4 separate regions of the Homo sapiens genome follow, and regions 1, 2 and 3 are each linked to region 4. Evidence: promoter capture Hi-C in 16 types of primary human blood cells and fetal thymus (Javierre and others, 2016). All regions are on one chromosome and are shown on one strand. Each heading gives the region's core, a stretch centred on a gene start or on the middle of the fragment in contact. The rest is flanking DNA. Distances are from core to core; before and after follow the strand shown.

Region 1 (5,659 bases), core at 2,965-5,464, 3.0 Mb after region 4:
TAGCCAGGTGTGGTGGTGTGCACCTGTAATCCCAGCTACTCAGGAGGCTGAGGCAAGAGAATCGCTTGAACCCAGGAGGCGGAGGTTGCAGTTAGCTGAGATCGTGCCATTGCACTCCAGCCTGGGCTGGACTCTACCTCAAAAAAAAAAAAAAAAAAAGGAAAAAGAAAAGAAAAGAAAAAAGAGAAAAGAAAAGGTTAAGTAAGCTTCCCAAATTCAAGTTTACAGAACCATGTATGGAGCTAGGTTCCACCTGGTTTCTGAATCCTAAAGCCCCTTACTCTCCCACACTGCTTGACCTTGGCTAAGTCCCTTATCTTCTCTAAACCCAAATCCTCATCAGTAACCTTGTGGTATGGGATTAGGTCATCTTTCTAGGTATGGATTATTTAGGAATTTAGTTATCCCGGTGGGGCGGGGGGTGGGGGCAGATGAAGGCGTGGAGAGGGGGAAAGCTGTTAATCCCTTTTCTTCTCTGACACTTCTATTAAATAATTTTAGACCCTGACCAACATAGCTTCAAGGTAGATAAATATTTTGGTTCTCAAGAAGAAAAACCAACCCTCTGTTTATGCCAAGTCATGCCATGGCCCTGGGAGCAGCAAAATATGTTTTGATCCAAGTAATGATAGGGTGGGCCCTCCCTGCCCTTTACTGGCTCTAGCTAATGACAAGTCAGTTTCTCCAGCGGTTCCTGTCTCCCCGGTTTTTCATCTCCTTAGTCCCCGGTTTCTGAACCACGGTAGGGGTCATGAATTTTTTTTTTTTTAATTGGCAGTGATCAAAAATGGTGCCCTCAGTCATCTTCCCCTTCAGAGCCCTTCATGTCCTTTGGAGGCATCTTGGCATTCACCCTCTGAGGAAGCAGGCATTACTCAGCGGATTCACTTCTGCAGAGTCCTTCCACACACACCCCTTCTGTGTGCAAATGGACTTTATAGCCAATGCAGGCACAATTCTACCAGGGGAGGAAGAAAACAGGCCAGCCGAGCCTGCTGGAATAATCCAGTGGGGGCCTTTTTAGTGGGCCTCCAAGGGCACTGGTCTTGCTTTTCTCATAGCTGTGGTGCCCTAGAAATGAACTCTCCCTCCACTATCCACTCCTCAGTGAAAGATGTGGACCAGCCAGGAAGAAGCAAAGAAGTGCTGTTTTATTGACTCCAGAAGAGAGGCCTTCCAAGCGAGCAGGCACTGTCATTCCCAGCCTGTATCCCAGAGGCTCTGAGCTCCTAGCAGGCAGTAAACAGTTGCAGGGGTGAAAGCATTCATTCGGCAAATCGGCAAATCTTCACTGAGCATCCACTGTAAGCTTGGTGCTGTACTGAGGATAGAGCTGTAGACAAGACAATTTCTTCCTCAAGGTGCTTCTAGAAAGAGAGAGAGATATTGTGTGTTTTTTGTTTTTTGTTTTTTGTTTTTTTTTGACACAGAGTCTCGTTCTATAGCCCAGGCTGGAGTGCAGTGGTGCAATCTCGGTTCACTGCAACCTCCACCTCCCAGGTTCAAGCGATTCTCATGCTTCAGCCTCCTGAGTAGCTGGGATTACAGGCGCGCTACCATGCCCGGCTAATTTTTGTATTTCTAGTAGAGACGTGGTTTCACCATGTTGGTCATGCTAGTCTCGAACTCCTGACCTCATGATCCGCCCGCCTCAGCCTCCCAAAGTGCTGGGATTACAGGCGTGAATCACCGTGCCCGGCCAGATTGGTTTTGAACTCAGTGATGAGGATAAGGTTGGCCAATGTGAACTGACAGCCATATACATAACTTTCTGCCACCTCTTCCTCTGCCAGAAAGGCACTTTCTTCCCTCCTCCAAGCTTCCAGAATACTAGAGAGAAGGACTCTTTTGCATCTGAGCGCTGTTGATTAGCATTTGTGAGAATCTGTGTGAATAACAATACCTCTTCTTCAGATTCTGGGGGTGACCCAAGGGATTCCTTTGAAGTGACTGGGCTCTCCCCTGCTCACCTCTGTGGTCTGGCAGGAAATATACTGGTGAAAAACCTTCAAGCGTACGAAATGCTGGTGAGGGGGATCCAGTCACGCTTGAATCATATGTTCATTCAACCAGTTGACTAATGATTGATTAATTGATTGGCTGATTGAGATCGGGTTTCCCTATGTTGCCCAGGCTGGTCTCCAACTCCTGGGCTCAAGTGATTGATCCTCCCGCCTCAATCTCCCAAAGTGCTGGCATAAGGGGTGTAAGCCACTGTGCCTGGCCCATTCAACCAATATTTATTTATGTATTTATTTATTTTAGATGGAATCTCCCTCTATTGCCCAGGCTGGAGTGCAGGGGTGTGATTAGCTGACTGCAGCCTCCACCTCCTGGCTTCAAGCAATTCTCCTGCCTCAGCCTCCTGAGTAGCTAGGATTACCAGCGTATGCCACCATGCCCGGCTAAGTTTTTTGTATGTATTTTTAGTAGACATGAGGTTTCACCATGTTGGCCAGGCTAGTCTCGAATTCCTGACCTCAGGTGATCCGCCCACCTCGGCCTCCCAACGTGCTGAGATTACAGGCGTGAGCCACCGTGCCTGGCCCAACCAATTTTTTTTTTTTTTTTGAGATAGAGTTTCGCTCGTTGCCTAGGCTAGAGTGCAATGGCGCGATGTCAGCTCACCGCACCGCACCCTCCACCTCCCGGGTTCAAGTGATTCTCCTGCCTCGGCCTCCTGAGTAGCTGGGATTACAGGCATGCGCCACCACGCCCGGCTAATTTTGTACTTTAAGTAGAGACGGGGTTTCTCCATGTTGGTCAGGCTGGTCTCAAACTCCCGACCTCAAGTGATCCGCCCGCCTTGGCCTCCCAAAGTGCTGGGATTACAGGTGTGAGCCACCGCGCCGACCTGGCCCAACCAATTTTTATTGAGCACTTGCTGTGTATCCCAGGCATTTGTGATACAACAGTGAGCAAAACATTCTTTCGGGGGGAAGGGAGATGAACAGTACATAAATGGGAGAAAAATGCAGGGAAAGCGGGTATAGGGAGATGGAGAGAAGACAGGTACCACAATCTTCTGGCCTTGTTAGGGTGAAATTCTATTCTCCCCTGAGATGTGTAGAAATGTATATCGGTTTGCTCCATTTTTATTGACCCACACTGCCTTGATTAACTGGAAAAGTTGAGACCCTAATCATCAGTCTGTCAATGACTGAATGAGACAGGACAGGAGATATATTCACCAAATGTCTCCTGGAATAGGGAGGCCCCGGGTGAATGATCCCAGACTGGGTTGATAGGAAGGAAGTAAATTAATACCAAATGTGAAGGGTAGTGGGCTTGTTTTATTTTTATATTATTATTTTATTATCACTATTAGTTGAGACAGGGTCTCATTCTGTTGCCCAGGCTGGAGTGCAGTGGCGCCATCTTTGATCACTGCAGCCTCAGTCAACCTCCCAAGCGAACCTCCAGCCTCAGCCTCCCAAGTAGCTGTCACTACAGGCAGGAGGCACAACACCCGGCTAATTAAAAATACATTTCAAAAATATAAAAACAAAACCCAAAACCTTTGTAGAGAGGGTGGTCTCTTACTCTTGGCCTCAAGTGATTCTCCCACCTCGGCCTCCCAAAGTGCTGGGATCACAGGTGTGAGCAGCTGCGCCCCGCCTGGGGTTGCTCTTGAGGAGCCAAACTTTGCCAGATTAGGCTGACAGTGAGAAAATAAATTCTTCCACGGTAGATACTGGGTGAAAAAGTGCACGTCAGCGGGCAAGGGTAAGTAACGACAATAACAGGAACTTCTAGGCGCTGACCCCAAGCTCCCTTCCGGGCCCTATCCCGAGCAGTCCCCGGGCAACCTCCAGCGCTCGCCCCGGCGCGCTAGGCTGGGACCTGAACCCCGGCTGCCGGGTGGCTTCTGGGCCCCTCCTCATTGCCGCTCCTGGGTCTTTCGGGGTGTCCGGCTCCCCAGGATGGGAAGGATTCCGGTTCACCTCCGCAGGGCTAAGTCACCGGGCGGCCCGCCTCGGCCCCCAGGGCCCGGGGGCAGGGAGCGCCGAGGGTCCGCCGCGGGGCTGCGGCGCAGGCGGTGCCGGGGCGCGGCGCTGCGGGGCAGGCGGGCCTCGGCGGCGGCGGCAGGCGGGTCGCTCCCTGCTCCGCCTCCCGTGCTCCGCCCTGCGCTCCCGCTCCGCCCTCCGGCTCGGCGCCCGCCCGCTTGCTCTCCTCGCTCGCTCGCTCGCTCCGCGGCCCCCCATGCGGATGTGACATTTCACGCCGCCGCCATTTTGAGAGCGAGCCGAGCCGAGCTGCCGGGCGCCGCGTCCGCTGCCGGAGCCCCGACGACGACGCCGAGGAGGCGGAGGCCGCGGCTCTCGGAACGCGGCCGGCCCGTCGCCCGCCCGCTCCGCCGCTCCCGCCGGCCCCAGGGCCCGCAGGCCCGCCGCGGCCGGCCAGGCCTCCCGTCCGCCGCGCCCGGCCCGAGGCGGGGCTGACTCCGCGGCCCCCGACCGGCCGCCCTCCGCCCCCGGCCGGCCCGCGGCCCCGCAGCCCCGGCCCCGGCCCCGGCGGCGGGAGGCGGGCCCCGCGGCGGCGGCGGCGGCGGCCGCAGCGAGCGACGAGGCCGCCCGGCCCGGCCCGCCGGCCGCCCGCCCGCCTCGGCGCCGAGATTGGGCGAATCGCGAGCAAGTACGTGCGCGTCTCCCTGCCGCCGCCGCCGCCCGCCGCGGGCCGCCCCGGGGCCGCCGTCGCCGACGACGCGCGGGAGGAGGAGGAGGAGGCCGCCCCGCCGCCGCCGCCGCCGCCGCCGCCCCGGCTCGCCGCCGCCCGCCCGCCGGGCTCGCAGCCCCGGCCCCCGGCCGCAGGCGAGGCCCAGGCCGCGGCCGACATGAACCACCAGCAGCAGCAGCAGCAGCAGAAAGCGGGCGAGCAGCAGTTGAGCGAGCCCGAGGACATGGAGATGGAAGGTGAGGCCCGAGGGCCGGCCGCGGCGGGGCCGGGGGGCGCCTTTCATTGTGGCCGGGGGAGCCGCGGGAGCCACGCGAGGGGCTCGCCATCTTTAACCAGGCCCCGGGCGGCCGCCGGGCCTCGGCCTGGCCTCCCGGCCCCGGCCTGCGAGGCTGCAAAGTCATGCCGGGTCCGCGGGCGAGGGGCGGCCGCCGGGACCCCGGCCCCGTGCATTGTCCCGACCTCGCGTCCGCCGGGCCTCCGCGGCACAAAGCGCCCTGAGTTGTAAATTCGAGCGCTCAGGCAGCGGAGGGACGGAGGTGTTTTCTCACCCAGGTTGGGAGGCGGACTCCGGGGACCGTCCCCGTTCTGGGGCGTCCGGTTGGATCTGGTGTGGCTGGGGAATTCCTGACCTCCCCGGGCGCGGGGCTCGCCCGCACCTGCTCCGGTGCGCTCCCCCGGAGGGCGCGCCGTGGCTCGGAAGCGCTCTTCCAAATCACTTTCTAACAGCACTGCCTAGCGTCGGGCTTACGTTCGAAAATACCTGCAAGGAACGCAGATGTTGTCAGGTTTTGGACTGGCCCAGAGTTCTGACCCGGGCGCTGTTGGTTTCCGAATCCACCTGTTTTTCGGGGAGTTTGTACTTGGCAGTGTGTGGTGCAGCCAGCATCCGGCCAGGTGTGCGCTTGCAACCGTGCGAAAGCCCTGCCGCACATGGCTGCCTGCATCAGAATCAAACCTGACTCGAAAGGTAACTCGGTTTTCT
Region 2 (5,575 bases), core at 523-3,022, 2.8 Mb after region 4:
GTCTTTTCCAGAGGGAGGCAAGGCTCAGCCGTCTTCCAGCTCAACGCTTCTCAACCTGAGCACTACTGACTTTAGGGGCATGATAATTCTTCGCTGAGAGGGGGCCGGGGCGGTTATCTTGGGCACTGCAGGACCTTCAGCAGCCTCTATACACTGGGTGCCCAACAACAGCCCCTTCTAGGAGAAGCCAACCAAAAACGTCCCCAGGCGTTGCCATCTGTCCCGGGGGGCGGAGGGAGGTGTCAAAATCGCCTCCGGTGGATCTAGCTAGAGCACCGCCGCGATTCTCAAGTTGCAAGGTATTCAAGGTTAGCAGCTGGGCTGGGGAGCAGAAAACACACTTGGAACGCAGGGCAGACACCCTGACGCAGGCGGCCCTTCCCTGAATCGGCAATGCAGCAAGGTTATCTTTACCTTTGTAGAGATTGGTGACGGCGGTGGCTGCGTTTTGGAAGGGGACCCAGAGAGAAAGTCCTGGCTGCTGACACACTCGGTCTGAAAAGCAAGCCAAAAAAAAAAAAAACCAAAAAGAAAAAAGAAACACACATAGAAAGAGAAAGAAAGAGAACAAGAATGTTATTTGCGCGTCAATCACTCCGGAACGGCCATATTAGGTTTCGCCATTTTGTTCAGGGGTTTCGGGATCCCAAACCCAGTGTGAGGACCGGGGGGGCAGGGAGGTCGCGGCGGGGAAAAGGGGATGCCGCAGAGCTCAGGGGCACAGATCAGGGACGAGCCGCGGCGCAGGGAAGCGCCCCCCCTGGCAGTCCCCGCCCCGAGGCCGGCTCAGGGCACAATGGGGCCGCCCCGCCGTCTCCCTTCGCCATTTTGTGACGGGGGCTCCTCCTCTCCCGTCTCCGGGCCGAGGGGGACACCGGGTGGCCGGGCCCGGAGAGCGGGGACCCTCGGACCACCCCAAAGCGGGGCTACCCCCACGCCGGCTCTGGCCTGTCCCCCCAACCCCGGGCCTCCCTCCCGCGGCGCCATCTTGCGGGGAGGGGGCGGCAGGGCCGCGGAGCCACCGGCCGGGATCCCCGAGGCCGCCGCCGTCGCGGCCCCCCGAAGCGGCCGCTGAGCCGATAGGGCCGGGGCCGGGCCCGGGCGGGGGCGGCCAAGCGGTACCAAGATGGCGGCGGCGGCCTCACCTTTGTAGAGCTGGGCCACGGCGGTGGCCGAGTTCTGGAAGAGGTGCCACAGCTTCTGCTGCTTGTGCTCGGGCTGCGCGGCGGCCGCCGCCTCCTCCTGCAGCTCGGGGGGCAGCTGCTCGTCCTGTTCGGCCTCGGCCAGGCACTGCCGCTCCCACTTGGAGAACCAGTGCTCGGGCCCGTGCTCCTGGATCTCGGCCTCGCCCTCCTCCTTCCGCTCCTCCATCCTCCGCGGCCTCCCGCGGCCTCGCCGCCACCGCCGCCGCGTCCTCCTCAGGCGGGGCCCCCGCGGGAGCGTCGTCGTCAAGCGGCCCGGCGGCAGGGCCTGGCGACCGACGGCGCCTTCTCCTTTCAGCGGCCCAGGCCTCCTGCACCCCGACGGCCGGCGAGCCCCGCCCCGCGGCCCCGTGCAACCAGGGACGACCCCCGCCCCAGGCCTTCCCACCCCCGGGCCCGGCCGAAGGTCGCCGCGGACCAGATAACCGCTGCCGCCCCTCGCCTCGGCCGCCGCAGCCTGTCTAACGCCCCCCCATGGCGCTGCGGCCTCCCCACTGCCGCCGCCGCCGCTGATCGCCGAGCCCTCCGCGCAGCTCGGCCTGCACCGCGGAGCCCACCCCAAGACTGAGCAACGTCGTCGTCGTCGCCACCGCCGAGGACGGCTCTGCGGCTGCTGGTCCCCGCCCTACCCCGCCCACATGCTGACAGGAGAAGCACCGCCCACTGGGCCCAAGCTACCCTGCCCGGTTGAGGCGTGGCCGCTCCAAGGGCCCCTATTAGTCGGATCCGGCCGGTTCCGCGTGGCGGCTTCTGAGCACAGCGTCGTGATTGGTTCTTCGGCCTGTCTGCCTGACGTAACCAATTGGCTGGGGGAAGGGAGTGAATGTCAGGAAGGATGAAGGAGGAGGAGGGGGAGGAGCTGACAGTGGTTGCGTCCGAGCCAAGGGGGCGGGTGGGGGGTGGAGGGGAAGAGCTAGAAGGGATGCGCATGCGCACTTGCTCGCTGCTCCCCCCCCCGCTCAGGGGCGTTGAGTGGGGATCACGTGACGAGGCCCAGCGACCGCACCCCGCGGGAGCTTTTCCGGCGTGTACAGGCCCTGGGGGGATGCAAAGTCGAGTGCGGCTCCTGTGCCGCGGGCACTGAGAGGTATAGTGGGTGGTAGCGTGCTTACTCCAGCCCCTGGGGCTCCCAAAGGGAGGAGGGTAGTAGAGAAAGTGAATAAAACGCCCAACTCGTGTCCAAGTTTGCAAAGCGCTTTCCTATTCTTTTGAGTACTCCCCCTTTTTTTTTTTTTTTTTTGAGACGGGGTCTTGCTACGTTGTCGAGGTCTAGACTGCTGGCCTCAGGCGATCTTCCAGCCTCCCAGGGCGCTGGGATTACAGGCTTGAGCCACCGCGCCCGGCCCAGAGTCCCATTTCTTAGACGGGCAAATCGACCATCACAGCCAAAGAAAAACTTCCGAGTTGCGAAGTCGGCTCAGTTGCCCCTGCGCCCTGGCGTCCCCCGAGGACGTCGCGCCTTCCGGGTGGACAGGACCTCGGCGGCCGCCCGCGGAGCCAAGGATAACCCGACGGCCGACGGTGCCCGGTGCCCGCACGCGTGCGTCTGCGCCTTTGCGCGCGCGGCGGCCCCCGCACCTGTCCCGAAAAGCACACTCCCAGGCCACGTGCATGCCCCGCGTCACGTACCGGCCCCTGCCTTCCCCGGCCCGAACCCGCGTGGCGGTGCCGAGCGCTGCGCCCGCCCCTACTCCCCCCGCAGTGCGCGATAGCTGGACGCCCCTGCGGCTGCGCGCCCCCCTCCCCTGTCGGGGCTTTCTCCAGGGTCTGAGGCCCCGGAGAAGGCAGCAACGCAGACAGGCGGTGACCGCACAGAGGCAAAACCCACCATCCCCACCTACATGCCCACGGGAGGCACCATCCGGCCTGGAGCGGCGGAGGGCGCCGGCCAGAGGCAGCGTCGCCCGCAGCCTGCGATAGTGCGCTTGCACAGAGCAAGGCGGCTTTGGAAGAAAATCTGACCCCCTCACCGCGGCCTGCAAACCCCTGCAGGATCTGGCCCTGGCGCCTCTCACACAATCCCCTACTTGGCTTGTACCTTGCGCACTCCCCCTCTTCCCCACCTCGCCTGGACGCTCACACACTGGCCTGCCTTATTTCCCTGGGACACTAGGCTCTTTCCTGCCCCAGTCTGCTATCTCTGGAAGCTCTTCCTCCTCCTCTTTCCTCAGATAGCTCCTGTTTAGGAAGCCTACTAGGACAAGCCTAAAGTAGCACCCTTCACACTGTCTCGTATTGCCTGGTTATATTATTTCATAACATCAATCACTATCTAAAATGCTAAATTAGGCCTGGCGCGGTGGCTAAAAAACAGGTTTCCAATTGTAGGGAAGAATATAAAGTGAAAAGCAAACAAAAATCATTCTACCTACCTCATTCTACATCCTCCCAATCCTATTCCCAGGAAATAACTTGTGACCTTTGAAAACGGAGTTATGTGTACGTCGAGTGTGTATGTGTGTGTGTACCTATATACAAGTATGTCCCTTCTTAAGGAAAAAAAAAGATGATTTTATGTGTACTATCCTACAAGCCTTTTTTCCTTAACATAATTTGGATGTCTCCACATTGGGACCTAAAGACTTATTTATTCTTTTAAAATATTGCAAATAATTTCATTGTATGGATTCACTACAAAGTATTTTACAGGGCCCCTATTGATACAAATTTAGATTGTGACCAGTCTTTGGCTATTATAAACAATGCCATAATGAACATCTTGTACATATGTAATACAGTGAACATCCTTGCATATATACATATGTGTATTGAATATATATCCTCAGAAATAGTATTTTAGAGTCACAAGGTATATGAGTTAAATATTTTAGGAGGGTAGGCATGGTAGCTTACACCTATAATCTCAACAATTTAGGAGGCCAAGACGCAAGGATTGCTTGAACTCAAGAGTTCAAGACCAGCCTAGGCGACATAGTGAAACCCAGTCTCTACAAAAAAATACAAAACACAGCCAGGCATGGCGGCACACACGTGTAGTTCCAGCTACTCAGGAGGCTGAGGCGGGAGGATTGCTTGAGCCCAGAAGGCATAGGTTGCAGTGAGCCGAGATAGTGCCACTACACTCCAGCCTGGGTGACAGAGACCCCATCTCAATCAATCAATCAATCAATAAAACTGCCTGCTGAGTGTACGATCAATGGTTGTTGATATGTCAATTTCTACATTTCTGCATTCATGGTAGCACGTGGGAAGTCCAGGCCTGCACATGTAGGTATGACAAAGGAGAGAACACAGCTGGACGATTTCGCTGCCTGCAGGCTCCGCTTCAAAAGCCACACACCACTTTGGACAGTCCAAAGGTTTCGAGTTTTTACAGAATGAAGGCTGCTCTTCTTCTCCTTCATGTAACTCAGACCCTGTTCCAGAAGCCTCTGGCCTTTTCTTGTAAGAACATAATATTTCAGCCATACATACAAGATGGAATGATATTGAATAGCATAAACGCTGGCTCTATAATAAATATTTGTCAGTTGGAAAAAACAGTCTAAAGAAAAAGGAATAAATATTGAAAAGCACCACCTATCTGCTTGATTTCCATGACCCTGAGCTTTGTGTTAACCTCTAAGAGTTTCTTTTTTGTTGTTGTTTCGAGACGAAATCTCGCTCTGTCGCCCAGGCTGGAGTGCAGTGGCGTGATCTCAGCTCACTGCAACTTCTGCCTCCTGGGTACAAGCCATTCTCCTGCCTCAGCCTTCCTAGTAGCTGGGATCAGAGGTGTGCACCAGCATGCCCAGATAATTTTTTGTGTTTTTTGTAGAGATAGTTTTGCAATGTTGCCCAGATTGGTCTCCAATTCTTGGGCTTAAGCAGTTCTCCCACCTCAGCCTCCCAGGTAGCTGGGACTACAGGCACATGCTACCATGCCTGGCTAAATGTATTTTTTGTAAAGATGGGGTTTTGCAGTGTTGCCCAGGCTGGTTTCCAACTCCTGGACTCAAGCAATCCTCCTGCCTCAGCCTCCCAAAGTGCTGGAATTATAGGTGTGAACTACTGCACCCAACCCACCTCGAAAAGTTTCTGAATTCTGAATTGATAGTCTTAGAGCACTTGAGCTATTATACAAATGCTTATTATCTTCTTATTCATGTGTACCTTATAATCAATGCCACTTGGAATGGAGGAATGTCAAATAACAATGCACGATACGTATTATGACCAGCAGTCAGCAAATAGAAGACCTTGTCAATGTGGAGATTCTCTCCAATGCCACCTACTCTTCAGTTTAAAGATGAAACCTCATAAGCCGGGAGCGGTGACTCATGCCTGTAATCCCAGCACTTTTGGGAGGCCAAGGCAGGCAGATCACCTGAGGTCAGGAATTCGAGACCAGCCTGGCCAACATGGAGAAACCC
Region 3 (5,347 bases), core at 2,510-5,009, 2.7 Mb before region 4:
TTAGACACAACCTGACTCTCATCTGTCGCCCCCTCCCGCCGGCTTTTTTAATAAAAGACAATTCTCGGCCGGGCGCGGTGGCTCACGCCTGTAATCTCCCCACTTTGGGAGGCCGAGGCGAGTGGGTCACTTGAGGCCAGGAGTTCGAGAACAGTCTGACCAACATGGTGAAACCCCGTCTCTACTAAAAATACAAAAATCAGCCGGGCGTGGTTACGCGGGCCCGTAATCCCAGCTACTCAGAAGGCTGAGGCAAGAGAATCGCTTGAACCTGGGAGGCGGAGGTTGCAGTGAGCCGAGATTGCTCCACCGCACTCCAGCCTGGGCGGCAGGGCAAGACTCCGTCTCTAAAAAGAAAAAAAAGAAAATTCTCTTTTGCCTAAGTTATTTCCGAGCCGCAAGTCGCAGAATCAGAAGAGCCGAGTTCTTGCCTGGCCCCAGTGTGACTTTGGGATTTCACTTTCTCCCTTCTGCGCTTCGGTCACCCTACTTTAAAGAATGGGCACAATCGCTCCGCCTTAGGCCAGGAACGTGCCTCGACAATTAGACCGTAAACTCAGCGTGGCGACTATCAGAAGCCTCATCAATTCTGGTCCGGCTGTTGCAGGGTGTGGCAAGCGCTCCTGGCGGGCAGGCGCCCCGTGGTTCCCCTCCAAGGTGTTTGGAAGCGACCCCTCCTCCTTCCCGCCCTAGGGAGCCCCAGGAGGGAGTGGCTCTGACCCTGACCCCCGAAAGGACGCAGGCGAGGCCCAGCGACCGGCTGTGCGGACGTGGGGCTCTCGGGAAGGGATAGCGCAGTTGGCCAAGCTGGGGTCCGAACCCCGCGGCCAGGAGTGGGGATGCTCAGGACTCGGGCCTGCGTGAGGAGAGGCCCCGCGCGCCTCCTACGACCCGGCTGGGGAGGCTCCGCAGAAGGGATTCCCGCTCCGTCTTCCACATCACTCCCCGATATCAAGCCCGAGTCGCCCCCTCAGCACCCCCCAGCCGTGTCGCGGCTTACCATTCCACTCGTCCCGGGCCAACCGGGCCATTATTCTCAGCACAGACCCCGCGGGAGCAGAGGAAGAGGGAGAGGCTTCGCTACCGGAAGTAACAAGACAGAGTGGGGGAAGCGTGCCCCGGCCCCGTGACCATAGAGGAGAGGCCGCTCTCCTTTCACAACCCCCCTCAACCCCGCGACCTCCCCGCTGCCTAGAGCGGCCACTCCCAGCCGGAGGAAGTGGGCGCATGCGTAATACCGCCGGTCCCGCCCCTTCCTCTTCACCCAGAGACCGAGTACCCGGGCTCGGCAGTCACAGCCCAAGGGGTGACGGGTGTGTGTCAGTTTCCGCTCCTCCTGGGCGGCTGTTCTTGTATCCGGAGGATACAAGCTTTGCCTAGAAATTAAAATATTACAAGGCCGCACCGTACTCTCTACAGTTATTTTTTGCCTTCACATTTTATGTAGAAAATCACAGGACTATACGTTCAATTTACGGTGTTAAGAATCGGAATTAAATGACTTTTATTTCTATTAAAATATTTTTTTTTTCGTAGAGATGGGGTCTCGCTGCGTTTTCCAGGCTGATCTTGAACATATGGCGTCAAGGGATCCTCCTGCCTCAGCCTTACAAAGTGCTGCGATTACAGGCGTGAGCCACCTCGTACAGCTTGAAATGGTTTTCTTATCACCACGTTTCGCCCCTTCCCAGCGTCTAGGTCACAGCGTCTAGAACTTATGCTGATTATTTGGTTTTGTTTTGTTGTTGTTGTTTGTTTTTGAGACAGAGTCTCACTCTCACCCGCCAGGCTGGCGTACAGTGGCACGATCTTGGCTCACTGCAACCTCCGCCTCCCGGGTTCAAGCGATTATCCCACCTCAGCCTCGTGAATAGTTGGGACTACGGGCGTGCACAACCACGCCTGGCTCATTTTAAAATTTCATTTTATTTTTATGGAGACAGGGTCTCGCTCTTTTCCCCAGGCTGGTCTGGAACTCCTGGGTTCAGGCGATTCTCCTGCCTCAGCCCCCGAAAACGCTGGGATTACAGGTGTGAGTCATGGCGCCAGGCCCCCATTAAACAGTTATTTATACAGATTTATTAATACGCTGCTTCCCAGTTCACATTCATTAGCACCACTGAGCCTCAATACAATCCCAGGAAATTGAGGTTTAGGAAGGTTTAATGCATTCCAGAACTAATAAGTGGCTGAGATAGATTTTGAAAATAGGTCTTCTAATCAACTTTCCTTTTGTTCGTTTGTTTGTTTTGGAGACGGAGTCTCGCTCTGTCGCCCAGGTTGGAGTGCAGTGGCACAATCTTGGCTCACTGCAACCTCCGCCTCCCGGGTTCAAGCAGTTCTCCTGCCTCAGCCTCCCGAGTAGCTGGGACTACAGGGGTGCGCCACCACGCCAGGCTAATTCTTTGTATTTTAGTAGAGATGGGGTTTCACCGTGTTGCCCAGGCTGGTCTCGAGCTCCTGGCCTCAAGCAATCCGCCTGCCTCGGCCTCCCAAAGTGCCAGGATCACAGGCGTGAGCCATCGCATCCGGCACTAACCAACTTTTCATAGTTGGCTTTTGTGAAAGACCAACCTGAATGTATTCATTCAACCCATGCTTATTGAGTGTCTACTACGTGTCAGCCCAGTGCTAGGCATTGGAGAACAGCAACCCCAAACCAACATACAATTCCATTAGGGCCGGGCCTCATATGTTGCACTCGACATAGTATTCCCAGAGGCTAATGCAGTAGCTAAGGGTCTCAGCTTTGCTTTCCGTGATCACCTAAGTAACAACCCCTATTATTCTTTTAATTTAATTTAATTTTTTTTTTGAAAACAAGTCTCGTTCTGTCACCCAGGCTGGAGTGCAGTGGCGTGATCTCGGTTCACAGCAACCTCCGCCTCCCAGGTTCAAGAGATTCTCCTGCCTCAGCTTCCCGAATAGCTGGGATTACAGGCGCGCACCACTGCACCCGGCTAATTTTTTGTATTTTTAATAGAGACAGGGTTTCACCATGTTGGCCAGGCTGCTCTTGAACTTCTGACCTCAGGTAATCCGCCCGCTTCTGCCTCCCAAATCGCTAGGATTACAGGCATGAGTCACCAAGCCCAGCCAATTTTTATATTTTTAGTAGAGACAGGGTTTCACTATGTTGGCCAGGCTGGTCTCGAACTCCTGATCTCGTGATCCGCCCGCCTCGGCCTTCCAAAGTGCTGGGATTACAGGCATAAGCCACCGGGTCCGGCCTAATTTTATTTTTTTAAGAGACAGGTCTCACTATGCTGTCCAGGCTGGTCTCGAACTCTTCAGTTCAACGGATCCTCCCGCCTCGGGTTCCCAAAGTGTTAGGCTTACAGGCGTGAGCCACCGCACCCGGATCCCATTATTCTCTATTACATCGCCCCGCTCTTTTTCTTAATAGCGATTTTCATGTGTTACCAAATGGCAAGTTTCACTCCTGCCTGAATTTCCCCTTACCCCAAGTTTAAGCTACAATGGGGCAGGGAGCACGTCTTCCTGTTCATCACTGTATCTCCACCCCTGTAAGAGTGGCTAGCATATCACAGAAACCCAGTCAGTATTTCCTGGTCGACTGGATGTCGAGACATGCACATTTTTTCTACTGAAGTGAAAGCCCGCACAAATTAGGCCACGCCTTGGGGACTTCGATAGCCACGCCCCTCCCCTGTCCCTATAAGGAGGGAAAGGAGCCCAGCCTTGGCCCCGCCCCCGCCGCCGCGCAGGCGCTGACGCAAGCGCAGCAGGCGCGCGCTGTTTCCGGAAGTCGCGGCCGGCGTCACCGCTGCGGCTGCCTCAGCTACTGCCGCAGTCGCCGCGGAATTCGGCGAGTAGAACCGCTGAGGCGGGCGCGGGCCCGGGTGGGGCCAAGGTTCCGGCCACTCTGCAGAATGGAGATAATCAGGAGCAGTGCGTGTCCGCCGTACACCTCCCCGCCTCCCCACACCCGGCTGCCCCTGGCCTGCTAGGCCGAGACCATGGCCGGCGTGTTTGGCTGGGCCTGGGGCTGAGGCAGCCCCTCAGGGCTTTTCCCTCCTTAAGCCGGTGCGCCTCTTGGGGTCTTTTCCGGCTGCGGACCGTGCACCCTAGGAGCCTTGTACTTACTCCTCCAACCCCGGCACCATCCGGGGCCTTGTCCTTCTCCGGGCCGGGCACCCCCCGGGGCTTGTCCCCCCTGACCCATGCACCCCTCGAGGACTTGATTCCCCTCGCCCCGGTGCACACCTCCGGGACTTTTCCCCTTCCGGCTCTCAGCCTCGGGAGCTCCTCGGCCCTCCTTCCCTCTCCCCTTAGCAGGAATTCAGGCCACTGGTTCTGAGCCTCTTTTCGGTTTCTCCGCAGATTTTAAGAGTAATCTTCACAAAGTGTACCAGGCCATAGAGGAGGCCGACTTCTTCGCCATCGATGGGGAGTTTTCAGGTATCCCTCCCTTGCAAGCTCAGGCTAGCACTTTGCAGTGCATAGCCAAGGCTCCTTCAATCCCCCAGCCCCCAACTTCTTATGCTTGGTGGTGGCCTCTTGCTGTTAGTAGCCTTGGGCGGGTTTCACAGGTCTCAGTGTTACCCTTTAAACGTTTCAAAAGCACGAAAGAAATGAAGATACGCCGTAGGTTTGTGATTGGACTCAGGATCTCAGATAGAGATGATGGTTTTGATGCTGCTTAAAACAGTGCGGCGTGTACATTGCAGAGAGCTTGAGGATTAGGGTCAGACTGTTTTTTTTCTTGATTGTAAAATAGGTATAACATGAAATTTGCCATTTTAAGTGGCTTTACAGTTAAGTGGCATTAAGTACATTCACATTGCTGTGCAAACATCACCATCCATCTCTAGGACTTCTTCATCTTCACAGTCTGAAACTCTTTACACATTAAACTCCCCATTTCTCCTTTCGCCCAGCCTTTAGCAACCGCCATTTGTCTCTGAATTTGACTGCCCTTAACATCTCATATAAGTGGAATCTTACAATATTTGCCCTTTTGTGACCGGCTAGGGTCAGGTTTTTGCAGATAAATGAGATATTTCTTTATGCATTAGTGGACGTGTTCATTGCCTGCCTCAACAGGTGTGTATACAGGAAATACTTCACTGACACTTAAAGTTGCAAATTTTTTTTCCCCTTTTTTAGGGGGAGCAAAGACTAGTTTTTAAATTGCTGATGTCAATATGAACGGTTCACTCCCTTTGATATGGATATCCATTTTTGCTGTCTGATTTTCCATGTTTGAATCATGAAGGAATCCATGCAGGGGTAAATAGTATCCTTGGCTTTAGGTAGTGTCTAGTTGGAATCACTTCCCTAGGAAGCTAAGAGTTTTCACTTAGAGAAATAATTTTCTCTTAAT
Region 4 (5,763 bases), core at 706-3,205:
GCGCCCGGCCTAACTTGTATTTTTAGTAGAGACGGGGGTTCCACCACGTTGGCCAGGCTGGTCTCGAACTCCTGACCTCACGTGATCCATCTGCCTCGGCCTCCCAAATTGCTGAGATTACAGGTGTGAGCCACTGCGCCTGGCCGGTATGTGTTTTTTTAATCCCTAAAGCTTGGTAGTTTAATATTAAATTCAAATTACTGTAGCCTAGGACTCTTTTGAAAAATACTTGACAGCTTCGTTTTTGACCTATCTCATTAGGCTGAGTTCTCTTTTATCTTTACAATACAGATGTTTAAAATTAAAATACAGATCGGCCGGGCGCGGTGGCTCACGCCTGTAATCCCAGCACTTTGGGAGGCCGAGACGAGCGGATCACGAGGTCAGGAGATCCAGACCATCCTGTCTAACACGGTGTAAACCTCGTCTCTAATAACAATACAAAAAAAATTAGCCGGGCGTGATGGCGGGCGCCTCTAGTCCCAGCTACTCCGGAGACTGAGGCAGGAGAATGTTGTGAACCCGGGAGGCGGGCTTGCAGCGAGCCGACATCGCGCCACTGCACTCCAGCCTGGGCTACAGAGCAAGACTCCGTCTCAAAAAAAAGAAAAAAGAAAATTAAAATACAGATCTAGATCTGGATTTTGTTAGGTTTTTTTTTTTTTTAACAACCTAAGGTTGTTCAGAAACATCTATTCTATGTATGTGCTTCTTTAGTCTGTAATTTCTAGGCAGATTAGTTGCACCCTGTCTAGACTCCTTTCAGAAAAATACTAACAATATGTTTTTCTCTGTCTTGGGCTCCACATGGGTGAATTACAGGAAAGCTTAACAGGTACTCAGAGCAACATTTTTTCCTACTTCATGAAGGGCCTAAATGCGAACTCTTAAGTATTTCTCGTTTGCTTTTGTTCTTTTCCCAGGTTTACCTAATCTGTAAGTGTAAGATGCAGTCGATGAAAAGTACTATGGGAATTCTTGAGCAAATCAGACCATTCAAAAGGAAACCACTTCACGTAATGGTGCATAAGGAAGCTAGACTCACCAAAATAACCCTGTTAGGTAAGCCGGATACACCATGGAATACGGCAATCCTCTGTTTAATTTGCAAACCCTTTGGCGGGGAGGAGGAAAGGATGGAAAAATTTGGGTGAAGGCTTTATATGACTAGTCAAACAAACGGTGAGTCATTGAAATTTTCCAGTTAACAATCCCTTCTGCCTGGGCAGAGCCTGGGCCCCAGCGCTTTATGAGCCACACTGCAGTTTTAAGCCGGAATATCTCACGGTTTTATTGTTTCTTCCACGAAATGATTACATAAAATGAAATCAGCTTTGCAATCTGCACCGGCTTTGAAATGAAGGGCAAAATCTGGCTGGGGGTGAGGAGAAAGAAGGTGGAGAGAGAATAAGGTACGGAGACTGTGAGGCAGAGAACGCAGGAAAGGTGGTGAAAAGAGAGTACAAGAATTTTCGGGAGCTGAGTGTATTTTTCTTCCCCATGTTATAGATGCTGTCCGTTTTCCCCCAGCCTGTGTCCAGCAGGCCAGAGTGGACCCCTCCTATGGGCTAAAATACTCTCGGTCTTCGGCCCAGCACAGAGCTGCACCAACCAGGGCCTGCCGCTGCCCCCCCACCAGGTGACAGGTGGGGCCGCCGAGCGGCCACCAGACCTCCGCCTCCTCGCGTTGCCTGCCGGGAGCCGGAGCCGCTTCCGGTTGCGCCCTGTCCCTGAACTTCGACTCCCGTCGGCCCCCGGGAAAACCGCAGCGGGGTAGCGCGGGCGCTGCCGGAACTTGTAGTTCCACCTCCCGCCGCGCTAAATAGCCGGAAACGGGGGCGGCCAGAACAGAGAACTACCGAGGCGAAGGTACGGGTGGCGGCGAGGGGTCAATCCGCGCCGGGGGTGGGGTTGGCTGTGAGGCCGTCGGAGGTGGTTGGGTGGGAGGAGATCCGCTCACACACACGAGGAGGAGGGTTGAGCTGCCGCCGCCGCCGCCTCTGTCGTCGTCGCGAGTGTGGAGTCGGGACTGGAGCTGCTGCCGCGGCGACGCCGGGGATCTTTGTCGCTAGCTCCCGGCCCTTCTGCCCCGCCGCCTTCCCTCAGTCAGCGTTGCCCACTCCTCTCCGGCCGGGCGCCCCTGCCTCCATTTCCCGCTCTCTGTCCACCACACACACGGCCCCCCCGATCATGGATCCGGGCAGTGGCGGCGGCGGCGGCGGCGGCGGCGGCGGCGGGAGCAGCAGCGGCAGCAGCAGCAGCGACTCGGCGCCTGACTGCTGGGACCAGGCGGACATGGAAGCCCCCGGGCCGGGCCCTTGCGGCGGCGGCGGCTCCCTGGCGGCGGCGGCCGAGGCCCAGCGGGAGAACCTCAGCGCGGCCTTCAGCCGGCAACTCAACGTCAACGCCAAGCCCTTCGTGCCCAACGTCCACGCCGCCGAGTTCGTGCCGTCCTTCCTGCGGGGCCCGGCAGCGCCGCCACCCCCAGTTGGCGGCGCCGCCAATAACCACGGAGCCGGCAGCGGCGCGGGAGGCCGTGCGGGTAAAGGCCCGGGACGCGGGAGGAAGTCCGGCCGGGCGCCGGAGCCCACATGGCGTAGGGGTGCGGTCCGGGGGCGCGCGGCCCTGGGGCCCGGTCGGCACGTGGGGCGCTGACAGTGGCGCCGTCTGCCTGGGTGGGGCGCCCCGAGCCCGGGAGCCGGCCTTCGCGGGGCGGCCCGCGGCGGTGGCCGGGCGGGGAGCGGACAGCGGGCAGCGCGCCCAAAGACCCGGACCCGAGTGCCGCCCCTCCGCGCCCCTGCCCTGCTCTGGAGTCCGCAGTTACCCACTTGAGATGGGAACCGTATGGAACGGAGTGGGGGCCGCGGCGGATCCCTGCCACGAGGCGCAGAATGAGGACAGATGGAGCCAGGAGTCATTTGGGTGGGCGTTTAGAGATCCCAGGAGTTGGGGAGGACGAATGGCCGAGTTTTCCTTTCACCTTAGGCCCAGCCGAGAGAGCGTCTTCTGCTGCGTTTTCTACTATTGAAACTGTAATTACGGTTTAAACTGTCCGTGGCCCCCAACCGTCCTGAAGGAATCCCAAGATGCATTGCAGCCTTGTGATCGGGCAGAAACTTGGCTATCAATACCAAGATCTGTTTTACCCTTAGCATTGTGTACGCTTCTAAAGTTTACAAAGTGCCACAAAGTTAGGATTCCTCACTTAATGTGTGATAGGAGACTATATTGATTTGTGTCTTTTTAAAGTGAAGCTTACACTTTTATCCTTTGTCAGCGACACGTTTAGAGAATTTTCATTGCTGTAAAATCGTTGACCTTATTCAGATTGCTTGGAATAACTCACTGTGTTCGTGCATCAGTAGTTCAGTCTATTTCTTCAGACACTTGAGCATTTGTTATAATTTAATAGTTCTCACGTGTCTTTCTGACCGTAGCTAGTAGACATACATTTTCTAATCCATAAAATTTCGAGTTAACTTTGGTTTTTAAACATCTTCCCGTACTTAGGGGTTGCTTAAGTCGTAGGTAGCATGCTTGCAGGTGCTGACGTTGTAGGAATATCCGGTGAGTGAACTTATGTATTCTCATAATGGTGCTTATTTTGTGGTAGGTAGCTTGCTTTCAGGTACTGATTTTGTGGGAATGTCAAATGAGTGAACTTAAGTATTCTCTTCCTAATGGTGCTTATTTTAGGAACTATCAGTGTTTCCTTAAAGAGAAAATGAAAAAGGAAGGAAAAGGCTGAACGTCCTTTCATCATTTAGCCAGGACGTTAGTGGGGTGGGTCATGACATCCAGCGCATTTTAAGTGAGAACATATTGTTGATTTCTCTCTTTAAAGTTCTGTATTGTGGTGGTTCTTAGATAAGTGGACATTATAAAAGTGCTCCAGGAGTTTGGTTTCTACAGAAACTTTTGTCACCGTTTGCTCTTTCGTGGTAAAGGGATAGTGTCTGGAGAAACACTCTGATGACGTATGTACGTCAGCACGGTTGATTTGGTGGTTTTGTTGACAGTGGCATTTATTTGTGTGGGTGGTTGATGTTTTCTTTTGAGGAGATCGAGCACTTTCAGGGTGGTACGGCTCTAGACAATGTTTTCCTCTTGAATAAGGAAGCTTAGCTTGTAATTCTTGACTTACATCAAGCCATTTTGACTGCCTAACCTAGTTCACTTCTCAGCTCCTAAAAGTGCCCATTCCCTACCTTACTTTGCAGATTCCGTTTATCCAGCCATTTTCTTTCTTGGCTCTTCCTCCTTTCTGTGGAGCCACCAGCACCACTCTGACTAGACTCAGGACTCCATTTACAGCCTGTCCAGCGAGTCATCCGGGGATAACCAACCTTGGTCTAGAATGGTCACTGTTGGTGACTAGGTATTACCTCTTATGCGGGCTTTCTCTCTTCCTGATAGTTGCTAATTTGTAGTTACACCTAATCTTTTTCTCTTTGACAGTGCTAGAAATTGGAGATGCGAAAACCTGTAGGGAAGTAGCTGTCAGTAAGAGAATCCGTACAGCATGGTCAACTTTCTTGTTTTTAATCAAAAAACTATTTTGGTGTTACCGACTTTACCAATTGCTTGTACCAAAATGCCAGTTCATGTTTTTAAAAAATTATCCTATGTAGGATGTCTATTTGGAAAAGAACTGATTTTCTAAGTTGAGGTCCAGGGTTATATTGAGACTGTTGGATTGCATGTTCCAGACTATTAAGTCCATAAAAAGCCAGCATCGGAGAACAATCAGTGCTTATAAAAAGCAGGGGGATAAATAGGAAATAACACCTGGATTGGAACTTACAAAGGGGGAACCAAAAAGTTTGCAAGGTTTTTTTGATAGCGAGGAAGTGGACAATAGGGCTAGCATGTTCTGTTCTTTAGTTAAGCCATAGCCGAAATTTGTGCTGGGTGTGTTTTTAAACTGCATGCCGGGAAAGCTGTTGAAGGAGCCTGGAGAGTCAGACCTTGGGATTCAGTATTGACCTTGGATCTCTTTGAAAACTAAAGAATATAGGTTCCTTAAGAAATAATTAAGTGGAACCCATTTAAGTGTAATTAAGTGTAATTCATTTAAGCACAGTTCTCTAGAGCCAAGTAAATTGGCCAAGAGATTCTCCTTAAAAAGTGAGGTCCCCAAGTGAATAAAAATATAGAAGACAAGGCTTAATGTATATTAGAACAAGCATTTTATCTGATAGGATGTATTTAAGTTGCAATTTGCACCTAGTTTTTTTTATTGTTAGATAAGAAACTGGTTTAGTAATTTTAGGGTTACTTGAACTTTTTAGAACAGCCAGAGCTTCTAAAGTAATGATGTGGTGTTCTTTGCATCATCCCACCTTTAATGCTTCTCAGAACTCACTGCCATTAAGAAACAAGCATGGAATAAAACCAGCAGCCCTCAGTACTTACTTGGAGGAGGCACTGTCTCCAAAACTTAGCAGATTGTATTGTGGAACTTGAATTTTAAAGAGAAACATTCTGTTTTGTAGTGTTCCGTATTTGCTGAATGCCTTATTTATTGGAAGAGGAGGTTTTTTTTTTGTTTTTTTTTTTTTTTGAGACGGAGTCTTGCTCTGTTGCCCAGGCTGGAGTGCAATGGCACGATCTCGGCTGACTACAACCTCCTCCTCCCAGGTTCAAGCAATTCTCCTGCCTCAGCCTCCCGAGTAGCTGGGATTACAGGCACCTGCCATCATGCCCAGCTATTTTGTGTGTGTGTGTTTTTGCAGGGATGGGGTTTCACCATGTTGGCTAGGC

The links. The method cuts DNA at HindIII sites, captures the fragments that hold promoters and counts their contacts. A CHiCAGO score of 5 or more calls a contact.
Region 1: a contact is called between the fragment with the promoter of USP7 here and the fragment with the promoter of GSPT1 in region 4, in 4 of 17 cell types (non-activated CD4 T cells, total CD8 T cells, naive CD8 T cells and 1 more). The highest score is 9.0, in non-activated CD4 T cells.
Region 2: the fragment with the promoter of HAPSTR1 here is called in contact with the fragment with the promoter of GSPT1 in region 4 in 4 of 17 cell types (non-activated CD4 T cells, naive CD8 T cells, fetal thymus and 1 more); the score reaches 10.4 in non-activated CD4 T cells.
Region 3: the fragment with the promoter of PARN here is called in contact with the fragment with the promoter of GSPT1 in region 4 in 4 of 17 cell types (neutrophils, non-activated CD4 T cells, naive CD4 T cells and 1 more); the score reaches 10.6 in neutrophils.

The regions. Positions count from the first base shown.
Region 1 is chr16:8,962,461-8,968,119 of GRCh38, reverse strand. USP7 (ubiquitin specific peptidase 7) reads left to right here and starts at 4,214. Exons shown (of 31, transcript NM_003470.3): 1 at 4,214-4,913. The coding sequence starts at 4,835. USP7-AS1 (USP7 antisense RNA 1) reads right to left here and starts at 5,407. Exons shown (of 2, transcript NR_184341.1): 1 at 5,226-5,407; 2 at 1,130-1,367. RefSeq lists enhancers at 741-1,362, 1,363-1,986, 1,987-2,610, 5,307-5,659 and silencers at 1,774-2,068, 3,752-4,111. The HindIII fragment of the contact is 5,189 bases long and covers 1,822-5,659 here.
Region 2 is chr16:9,087,841-9,093,415 of GRCh38, reverse strand. HAPSTR1 (HUWE1 associated protein modifying stress responses) reads right to left here and starts at 1,772. Exons shown (of 4, transcript NM_014117.3): 1 at 1,146-1,772; 2 at 415-495. The coding sequence starts at 1,371. RefSeq lists enhancers at 303-472, 2,742-3,607 and silencers at 623-1,122, 1,333-1,672, 1,843-1,912, 2,701-2,831. The HindIII fragment of the contact is 14,700 bases long and covers 1-5,575 here.
Region 3 is chr16:14,628,672-14,634,018 of GRCh38, reverse strand. PARN (poly(A)-specific ribonuclease) reads left to right here and starts at 3,759. Exons shown (of 24, transcript NM_002582.4): 1 at 3,759-3,912; 2 at 4,345-4,422. The coding sequence starts at 3,894. It overlaps BFAR (bifunctional apoptosis regulator), which reads right to left and starts at 1,068. Exons shown (of 8, transcript NM_016561.3): 1 at 1,001-1,068. RefSeq lists enhancers at 486-1,055, 1,056-1,623, 3,223-3,745, 3,746-4,267, 4,268-4,791. The HindIII fragment of the contact is 4,468 bases long and covers 1,373-5,347 here.
Region 4 is chr16:11,912,148-11,917,910 of GRCh38, reverse strand. GSPT1 (G1 to S phase transition 1) reads left to right here and starts at 1,955. Exons shown (of 15, transcript NM_002094.4): 1 at 1,955-2,542. The coding sequence starts at 2,191. RefSeq lists enhancers at 15-515, 1,816-1,965, 1,574-2,511 and silencers at 1,566-1,625, 2,336-2,405, 2,496-2,735, 2,776-2,825. The HindIII fragment of the contact is 2,427 bases long and covers 830-3,256 here.